Regions from separate parts of the Homo sapiens genome. Here regions 1 and 2 are each linked to region 3. Evidence: promoter capture Hi-C in 16 types of primary human blood cells and fetal thymus (Javierre and others, 2016). All regions are on one chromosome and are shown on one strand. Each heading gives the region's core, a stretch centred on a gene start or on the middle of the fragment in contact. The rest is flanking DNA. Distances are from core to core; before and after follow the strand shown.

Region 1 (3,580 bases), core at 790-3,289, 550 kb after region 3:
CACTCCTTCTTCCCAGTTTCTGGTAACCATCCTTCTACCCTCTATGTTCATGAATCCAATTATTTTGATCTTTTAGATCCCACAAATAAGTGAGAACATGTGATGCTTGTCTTTCTGTGCCTGGCTTATTTCACTTAACAAAACAATCTCCAGCTCCATCCAAGTGGTTGCAAATTACAAGAGCTCATTCTTTTTTTGTGACAGAATAGTACTCCATTGTGTATGTGTACCATATTTTCTTTCTTTATTCATCTGTTGATGGATATTTAGGTTGCTTCAGAATCTTGGCTGTGGTAAACAGTGCTGCAGCAAACATGGGAGTGCAGGTATCTCTTCGATATACAGATTTCCTTTCTTGGGTATATACCCACTAGTGGGATTGCTGGATCATATGGTAGCTCTATTTTTAGTTTTTGCAGGAACCTCCAAACAGTTCTCCATAGTGGTTGTACTAATTTACATTCCCACAAACAGTGTACAAGGGTTCCCTTTTCTCCACATCCTCTCCAGCATTTGTTACTGCCTCTCTTTTGAATATAACCCATGTTAATTTACTCAGGTGAGATGATGTCTCATAGTTTTTATTTGCAGTTCTCTGATGACCAATGATGTCGAGTAACTTTTCATATGCCTGTTAACTCCATTCTTTAGATAAAGAAACTCTTGAGAGGTTTGATGTTTACATGGCTAATCACTGTTGGTACTGTCATTTAAAATCAGGACTTCTGACTAGTTCTGGCCCATTCTCTATTTAATTAATATGTATTGAGCATTTATTAGGAGCAAAGCACTATGATGGGCACTAAGAGAAATATATTGTAGTACGTACCTTTTTTCTTCTTTTGCTCACCTAGCACTTTCTTCTAGAACTGCCCCTTTGTAGGAGCTTCCTACAATTGTCTGAGAATTGCTGCTACCCACCAAACTCACAGGATAGGGTGACTGAGAGAGCTTCCACATCAGTCTCACCCCAGCTATCATAAGCAGCCAAAGGAACCACTTGATGCAAATATGGGAGATTCAGAAATCCTTTAATAGAATCTGCACCATGGTTCATGAAAGAGAGAGAGAGAATATGAATGTGTGTGTGTGTGTGTGTGTGTACTTCGGGTAAAGTGGACACTTGATACCTTCAAATCCAATTTGAATCTTTCCCTGAGAATTTGGCCTTAGAAAAGAAAGTTATCTGTATAAATGGACTGAAATATGTAACACTTGGGAAATTGCAGCAGTTACATTCTGCTACTGAGGAGAGGAGAAAGCCAGTCTGAGGTGAGACGGAAAAGCCAAATCAATATTCAGAAGCCCCTCAAGATATGAAATAGAAAACATCTGGAAAGTGACTTTTTCATTGTTCTTGAGCCCAGCTGCAGTCTTTCTTAGAGTTTCATGATCCACTCCAATGTTCTTATGTTTTTCGGTTGTTAAAGTAGTAGAATTATATTTTTATTCTATGTAACAAAGATTTATAATTAATAAAAAATCAAGATTAAAGACATAAGATTTCTGCTTCTATGAGCAAGAAACAACATTATATTTCCCAAATGACTAATATTAGGCTAATTGCCTAAGGAGTATTATAGAGCTTGTTGAAATGCATATTCTAGGGCTTCTTCACCTGCAGGTTCTGGTATAGGATGGCTGCAATTTAGCCTAGACATCTGTGTTTTTAATAAGCTTTTCAAATGAGTCTGATGCACAGCAAGAATTGGAAATCTCTGGCAGAAATACTTCTGTAAATATTTTGAGAACATGGCAATGTGACTTCAAGATGGTGCAGGCCATGTCAATTATGATACATCAGCTGTATTTCAGTTTGGGTACTGATTAGATGGTAAAATTAAACATTTCCTCTTGTGGAGCTGTTATCCCTTTGATGTGTTAGGAGGAGGAGAAGAGAGAAAGCAATGTAGTCAGACTTGGGGATTGGGGGCGGGGGTGGAAGAACAAGGAAGAACTGAAGATCAGAACTGGGGATGGTATGTAGGAAACTGATAATACATTGTGGGTGGGCAGAGGGAATGGACTCATCCCTCAACTTGACCCAGAAACAATTACAGTGTTAGGCATCCCTGGCCAGAAGCAAGGGGAAAAGCAAAAGCAGTACAAAAGCTCTTTTGATGGAAGAAGCCACTGTCATGCCTCTGTGTCTCTTTTCTTGACCTGGCCACTGCTGCGAAGGTAGTTTATAGATGTAGTGGATGATATTTACCTAATCTTTGCCTCCTGACCTCATGGGATATTGCCAGATGGGTATCTTGGGAAGAATTATTTCCTATCCCAAAATTGGCCCTGCTGTAATTTGCATTTACCTCAGCACCTTTCAGAAGTGCAGGCCATCAGCAATGCATGAAGCAGCTCTAACCACAATCAAGTTACAAGGACACTCATGAGAAGCTTTTCCATCTGAGAAACACAAAGAGCTCCATTGATTTTGCTAACACCCCGGAGGTAAGTGTGAGAGCAACACAAATTGTCTTGGCGGTAGAGTGAGGAGAAGGGATAGCATAAATGATTCTTGAGTTGTTTCCTAGCCTTGCCAAAAAGCATTACTGGGAAATGGAAACTGGATGTGATTAAATTCCCAGCAGCTTAGAAAGTCATTGCAGGAGGGAAACTTAGAGATTATCCAGGGCATAACTCTTTTTACAATTGAGAAACTGAGCTCCTGAGAAAGGAAGTGATGTGTCCCAATTCACACTTCTAGTTGGTGGCAGAGAGTCAAGTTTAGAATTTAGGCCTCCCAACATCGAGCTTAGTGTTCAATAAATGTAACCATGAGTAAGACTTCTGACTGTGTATAGGGCATGCAAATATAGCCAGTCCGAGAAACAGAATTCTAACAACAATTGTATTAGTCAGTTCAGGCTGCTATAACAGAATACCACAGAGTGGATGGTTTAAACAACAGAAACTTATTTCCCACAGTTCTGGAGGCTACAAAGTCCAGGAGCAAAGTGCTTGCTGGTGCCTGCTGAAGGCTTTCTTCCTGACTTGCAGATGGTAAAATGTGACTTTACATGGTGTGTGCGAGGGAGAGGGAGAGGGAGAGCGCATGCACACATGCACACAAGTACACTCTGGTATCTCTTCTTATAAGGACACTAATATCATCAGATCAGGAACCCACCTTTGTGACCTCATTACCTAAACCTAAATTACCACCTTATAGGCCTTATGTCCAAATACAGTCAAATCAGTGGTTAGGGCCTTAACATATGACTTTGGGTGGGATACACAATTCAGTCCATAGCGATGACCATCTTCAGACTAGCCTGCATCCTCTGTCCTTGGTCACATTGATGATTTAAATGGAGGCAGGTACTTGCTCTCACTGCCAGCAACAAAGACACTGCTTTTGAAAGGAAGAGGATGCAAAAATACTTATCAATAGTGACTTTTTTTTTTTTAATTTCACTTTAAGTTCTGGGATACATGTGCAGAATGTGCAGGTTTGTTACATAGGTATACATGTGCCATGGTGGTTTGCTGAACCTATCAACCCGTCATCTAGGTTTTAAGCCCTGCATGCATTAGATATTTGTCCTAATGTTCTCCCTCCCCTTGCCTCCCACCCCCA
Region 2 (3,485 bases), core at 184-2,683, 530 kb after region 3:
ATTTTAGACCTTTGAGATTATAGTCTTTAAGTGAGTGAGATAATACTTCCAAGAGTAAGCATATAGTTATGGGCAGATAATGAAAATACAGTTCCTATATAGTGTTTTCAGACAGTCTTTATTGTGAAATATGCCATTAAGTGAAATACATACAAATGTAAATATGCAGCTTCACGTTAACAAATTTTTGTAAATGTGAACACCCATTTAACCACCACTGAGGTCAAGAAACAGAACTTATCCAGCACCCTCAGCCCATCTATGCTTCTTCCCAATTCCAACCTTCTTTTCCCCTAATAAATATAACTGTGTCCAATTTTATGATAATCTCTTCTTTTTCTTTTCTTTATGTTTTTTCTGTAGCCCTCTGCATTTTTAGGTGATTAGTTTGACTGTGTTTTAACATTTTGTATAAATGGAATCATTTTTTCATGTTTGGTTTCTCTCACTCAATTTTATGTTTGTGAGATTCACCTATGGTGTTTCAGGAAGCAGTAGTTTGTTAACTTCCAATGCTGTCTGATATTCCACTATATAAACATGCCACTATTTATTTAACTATTTGCTGTTGATGGATATTTAACTCGTCCCCAGTATTTACTTATTAATAATACTATTGTGGATATTTTCATCCATGTCTCCTAGTACTCATACCTTCAAACCTTTTGGACATAAAACCAAAGTAGATTGTTACTTAAAAATGTTTCAAATATTTTCTCCCACTCTGTGACTTGCCTTTTCATTCTCTTTCATATTAAAATGAAATTAAGACCTCTGCTTATGTTTTGAAAAGCAGAGGTCTTAATTTTGTTTTAATATAAAGTATATCAATCTTTTCACACTGTTTATGTATCCCAGAACTTAAAGTAAAATAAAATAAATAAATAACAAATTAAAGAAATTTCTTCCTAACTTGATAGTTGAAGTCATTCTTCTATATTATCTTTTAAAAGCTTTATGATTTTTCTAATTCGAATTTATGTCTACAATCCATCTGGGGACATTAGGGTTGTTTCCAGCTTTGGGCTATTTTTGGCAGTATTTTATGGTTAGGAAGAATGCTGACATGCACATTTCGCACACTTTTTTGTTAGACATATGCAGTTGTTCCTTTTAGGTATATACCTAGAAATAGAATTTTTGACTCGGAGGATAGTAGATCATTCCAGGTATCTAAAGTGTTGTATCACTTTATACTTCCACCATGAATGTATGAGATTTCCAGTTGTCTCACATTCTTACCAACACATTGTGTTGATAGTTTTTTTTTTTTTTTTCTAATTTGTAGTCACTTTGGTGGGTACATACAGGTGTTTCATTATAGTTTTAAATTGCATTTTCTTTTTTTTTTGAAATGGAGTCTCACTCTGTCACCAGGCTGGTGTGCAGTGGTGCCATCTCAGCTCACTGCAATCTCCACCTACTGGGTTCAAGCGATTCTCCTGCCTCAGCCTCCTGAGTAGCTGGGACTACTCAGTCCTGAGACTGCTACTACATGGTGCACACCACCACGCCCAGCTCATTTTTGTATTTTTAGTAGAGATGGGATTTCAGCATGTTGGCCAGAATGGTCTCTATGTCTTGACCTCATGATCCACCTGCCTTGGCCTCCCAAAATGCTTGGATTACAGGCGTGAGCCACCACACCCGGTCTTAATTTGCATTTTCTAATAACCAATGGTGTTTAATAGATTGTCTTACACTTACTGGATATTTTTATATCTTTGTTGGTAAATTGCCTGTTCAAGTTATTGCCCATTTTTGAAATTGTGTTATTTTGTCTTTCTTTATTAATATGTAATTGTTCTCTATATATTTCGGAAACAAGTCCTTTATCTAAAATGTATTTTAAACATCTTTCTCTGCCTATTCTTTCTATCCTCTTAATGATGTATTTGATGAACAGAAGCTTTTAAAGTCCATAAGTTCTCGGCCAGACACAGTGGCTCATGCCTGTAATCTCAGCACTTTGGGAGGCCAAGGCGGCGGATCATGAGGTCAGGAGATCAAGACCATCCTGGCTAACACAGTGAAACCCCATCTCTTCTAAAAACACAAAAAGTTAGCCAGGTGTGGTGGCAGGTGCCTGTAGTCCCAGCTACTCAGGAGGCAAGCTAGTTACTTCCTAGATCAAAAGCAAGCTAGTTACTTCCTAGATACAATGGGGGTAGGAGAATGGCGTGCATTCGGGAGGTGGAGCTTGCAGTAAGCCGAGATCGTGCCACTGCACTCCAGCCTGGGCGACAGAGCGAGACTCCATCTCAAAAAAAAAAAAAAAAGGCCACAAGTTCTCTCGTCTTTTATGATAATTGTTACTTGTGTTCTGTTAAAATTTCTTTACCTGACAAATATGTCTTGAAATTATTCTCGTTTGTTTTTTCTAAAAGCTTTATTGTTTTACCTTTTACTATTTAGATTTATAATCTATCTTAAGTTAAATTTTTATTATAATCTACCTTAAATTAAATTTTTGTATGATGTGAGGTTTGGGATTAAGGTTGTTTTTCTTTTCTATATGGATGTCCAATTGACCTAGTACAATTTATTAAAAGATCATCTTATCCTCTCTGAATTGCTGAGGTACCTTTGTTAAAAACTAAATGACCACACACAAACATACACACAAACACACACACTCATGAACACTTTATTGTGTTTTATGTTTAATGTCTCTCTGCTTATGTCAATGCCACACTTTTAATTACTGTGTCTTTAAAGTCCTGAACTCTAGGGGTGTAAGTCCTTTCTCAAGACAGTCTTGGCTATTGTAGGTTTTGTGTGTGTGTTCATATAAATTTCAGAATCAGTTTTTATCAATATTCACAGATACACAAAGCATGCCAGCACTGATTGTGATGGTGTTAAATCTATAGATTAACTTGGGGAGTGGAACATTTAATAATTTGTAGAAAAGATGCAATCAAAAGATGCAATCTTCCAATTACAATTGGGAAATTTTATCTTCCAATCTATGAACATAGTCTAGTTCTTCATTTATAAGGTCGTCTTTAATTTCTTTCAGATATATTTTATAGTTTTAAGTTAGAAATGTTGCACAAATTTTATTAGACTTAAAAGATATTAGACTTTTTAATGATACTGTTCATATATATATACATATATATACATATATACATATATATACATATATACATACATATATAAATACATATATATGTGTGTATATATATATGTATATATATATATATAAAATTTTCTTTTTGAGATGGAGTCTCACTCTGTCACCCAGGCTAGAGTGCATGGTGTGATCTCAGCTCATTGCAACCTGGGTTCAAGTGATTCTCCTGCCTCAGCCTCCCAAGTAGCTGGGATTACAGGCATGAGCCAATATGCCCAGCTAATTTTTTCATGTTTTTAAAAAAATCTAATTGTGTTAGTCCATTTTGATGCTGCTGATGAAGACATACTTGAGACAGGGAAGAAAAAGATATTTAATTGGACTTACAGTTCCACATGGCTGGAGA
Region 3 (3,376 bases), core at 121-2,620:
TAAATATGTGCTTTAAGCCTGAAAGAAGGAGCCATTTTTCAACAATTGTGGGTAGTCATGACATGAACATATATAGCATGATTATTTTCATCTACACAGCCCAGTATCGGATTGAACCATAGGGGTGTGCCTACATTTGACTTTTTTTTGTTTTTGAGACAGAGTCTCGCTTTGTTGCCCAGGCTGGAGTGCAGCGGTGCAATATCGGCTCACCGCAGCCTCCGCTTCCAAGGTTCAAGCAATCCCCCTGCCTCAGCCTCCCAAGTAGCTGAGATTACAGGAGCACACCACCATGCCCAGCTGATTTTTTCTATCTTTAGTAGAGATGGGGTTTCACTGTGTTGGCTAGGCTGGTCTCGAACTCCTGACCTCAAGATCCGCCTGCCTCAGCCTCCCAAAATGCTGGGATTACAGGTGTGAGCCACCGTGCCTGGCCACATTTAATTAACTGTTTTTGACCTATAAAAGTGGTTGTTTCTTATGCATTAACTAATAATAACGAAACGCTAACAAAACTTTATTTTTTCTCCTTATTGATTTCATAACTCTGTTTTTAGAAAAATGCAGCTAAGTCTTTAAGAATATTGTCATTTATCAATACTTATAATGTATAACTTATAATAGAAGGCAGGCAGTGTCTTACATCTGAAACTCCTTTTCTTTGGCAGCCGTATTAATTTTTACTCTTCTATTTGTATTGTGCTTGCACACCAAACTGATATAGATGGAAAACATATCTTATTTTCACCCTGACATGCATCAAAAATATGAATATATGTCTCTAGTTATATCTGTTAAACTGTTTTTGAAATTTCTCATCCTGGTATTTGAGCTGTAAATGCTCAGCAACAGTCAGTGACTAAAATGCAGCTGGATTGGGTTATGATCTCTGCATTAGGTTGTGTGGGAAGTGCTCTGCTCATGACTGCATACTCTTAAGCTTGGCCTTGGTGCGTATCATCAAGCAGGACTTCTTTTAAAGTGTGCAATCACTGTTTTGCCGATGTCCTTGGTTATATCACTACCATTTCAATGTGATTGATTGAAACAACTTAAATAACGCAACTGCCTTTTCCCTCTGGGAATATGTCTCTCCAAACCATTTTTCTTCAGCCTGATTCCAGGTGTGTTCAGGGGACACACACATACACACAAATCACATGTGACTTAGTTATGATGGAAAATATTCAAGTGAGCTGTTCATTTTTCTTACCTATTAATCCTTCTTCTCCTGTCTCCCGCAGTTATTATGTGGGCATGTGTGGAGATGGAGCTAACGACTGTGGGGTGAGTAGAAATGGCTTTTGCTCAGACAAGCCACTCACTAATATCCCTCTGGAGGACCTCAGGCTCTCCTGGGGTTTGTCTCTTCATCCTTCCACCAGCAACCATTTGATTATTTTGCTGTTTATATCCACCTCTACCTGAGTGTGGGTTGGAAGCGGAGGGGAGTAAAGGGAGATGAGACACTTCCGATGCTTTCTGGAAACTCCTAGAATAATAAACACAAAGGAAGGCTACTTAGACTCCCATATTTCAGGTTCCAAAGATGGAACTTTACAAGTCTATCTGCTTTAAATCTTTCCTGTTATCAGTAATGAAATGATTTCTCAAGGAGGTGATTTCTTCCCCCCTCCCAAGGTCACACAACTGATAAAGACTCAATGAAACGAAGTTTGAAACTGATGATTAAAGTTTTGAATTATATGTAAATTATATTTATTCCTGCCAAACTTTCATTCTCTGGTTAGTTTTTAAGTTTGCTTCACCCAGAACTCTTTCACTCAGTAAAATCCTAGACCAAACTATTTAGTTATTTTATGCTATAGAAAAAGCTAAATAAAATGATTATCAGCAAATTATTTTTCATATGCAGTAGAAGGGCAGTGAATGTTTTATATTCTGAGTTTTAAAGACATGAAGGAAACAAATAGTCTACCTTCAAGATTATGTACTTAAGGAAATATTTCAGTAGCTGATTTATGGGACAAGAAGTGAGGAAGATTTCTTTGTATTTCCAAAGCTTATTAGAGATTTAAGATCTTGGTATTTGTTTTATTTCTCTCTTAAATATTATTTCCAAATTTCTGTGAAAACTGTGTTTATAGCTAGAAATTTTTATAGCTAGAGATGTTTTTTGCTTTATGTTTCATGAGAAAAAGCTAATTTTTAGTCTGTTCTTTCAAATCTAGAATACGTATCCTCTCACATTAATTATGTGGCGTTTAGAATAAAACAAAAAAATCAAATGCAAAAAGGGACATAGTCTCTGCCTCCTAAAGAGTTCATTGTCTGATGAAGAAAGAATCATGAATAAAACTAACCCTAACATAAAGTAGATGGTCCTAAAGTACATAATAGAGATACGAACTAGAGATCAAAGAGGAAGAAGAAAATGTCCTATTATTTATTAAACCTGAATCTAGTATGTACTCATGGCGCCAGGTACTCTGTAGTTCTGTGGAACTACAGATATATAAAAGTTCATTTTATGCCCACACAATTCTTATAGGATCGGCCTAGGAATTCTTTCACCTTTGTTCATGAAGATTCCCACCAGGTACAAGAACTGAAACGGTGAAGGTCCCCAACCAACGTCCATCCAAATTCTGTCATCTTTTTAATTGAGTTTTTGAATGAGGGCTTCCATCTCCTTTTCACATCTATAATCCCCACAGGCAGGGCCCTTGTATGCACATGCCCACATGCACACACGCATGCATGTACACACACCACTTTTCTACCTCTGGGTCATTGTTTAGTTAGTGACTTTGTGGATCAGGGGAGAGAGGGCACTCCAGGTGGAGGGACAGCATTAAACAGAGACCCAAAGATGAAACAGTACAGTGTTATACCTTTATGATGTGAAGAACAGCCTCTTGGTGTTTTAAGAGGTAAAGCCTAACCTGAAAAGTCATGGGTGAGACATGGGCTTATCATTCCAGGCTTTGAAAGCGGCTCATGCAGGCATTTCATTATCAGAGCAGGAAGCATCTGTGGCATCCCCTTTTACCTCTAAAACAACCAACATCCAGTGTGTGCCTCATCTCATCAGGTAAGTCATTTTTTCCTCTTCCAGCCCTACAATCAATGGGCCCATTGTCTGGCTCTGCAGACAGAATTCAACTACAAGCTAAAGTGATAAATGCTGCAACAGAGGAATGGGTGAAGTGCTATTGGAGAACCAATGAAGGGGGCCATTAGTGTTACTCAAGAGTGCTGGTAAAAGCCACAGAAAAGTGACTTTTGCTGAGCCTTAAAGGATAGGTGGGTATCATGTAAACAGTTGAAAGCTTGACTTGATGTTTTAAAACTAATTGTATTTCTTACTTTTTCTCTCCTCTATTTGGTATGTTGGATGCTTCCTGTAACATTT

The links. The method cuts DNA at HindIII sites, captures the fragments that hold promoters and counts their contacts. A CHiCAGO score of 5 or more calls a contact.
Region 1: a contact is called between a fragment that was not itself captured here and the fragment with the promoter of ATP13A5-AS1 in region 3, in 1 of 17 cell types (M0 macrophages). The highest score is 6.1, in M0 macrophages.
Region 2: a fragment that was not itself captured here is called in contact with the fragment with the promoter of ATP13A5-AS1 in region 3 in 1 of 17 cell types (M0 macrophages); the score reaches 6.7 in M0 macrophages.

The regions. Positions count from the first base shown.
Region 1 is chr3:192,752,755-192,756,334 of GRCh38, reverse strand. No RefSeq gene overlaps it. Among named protein-coding and RNA genes, the nearest start is that of FGF12, 27 kb to the right of the region's middle. The HindIII fragment of the contact is 720 bases long and covers 1,680-2,399 here.
Region 2 is chr3:192,776,292-192,779,776 of GRCh38, reverse strand. No RefSeq gene overlaps it. Among named protein-coding and RNA genes, the nearest start is that of FGF12, 50 kb to the right of the region's middle. The HindIII fragment of the contact is 956 bases long and covers 956-1,911 here.
Region 3 is chr3:193,305,238-193,308,613 of GRCh38, reverse strand. It overlaps ATP13A5-AS1 (ATP13A5 antisense RNA 1), which reads right to left and starts at 1,370. Exons shown (of 2, transcript NR_046758.1): 1 at 1,214-1,370. ATP13A5 (ATPase 13A5) reads left to right here. Exons shown (of 30, transcript NM_198505.4): 22 at 1,245-1,287; 23 at 2,946-3,055. The HindIII fragment of the contact is 1,083 bases long and covers 943-2,025 here.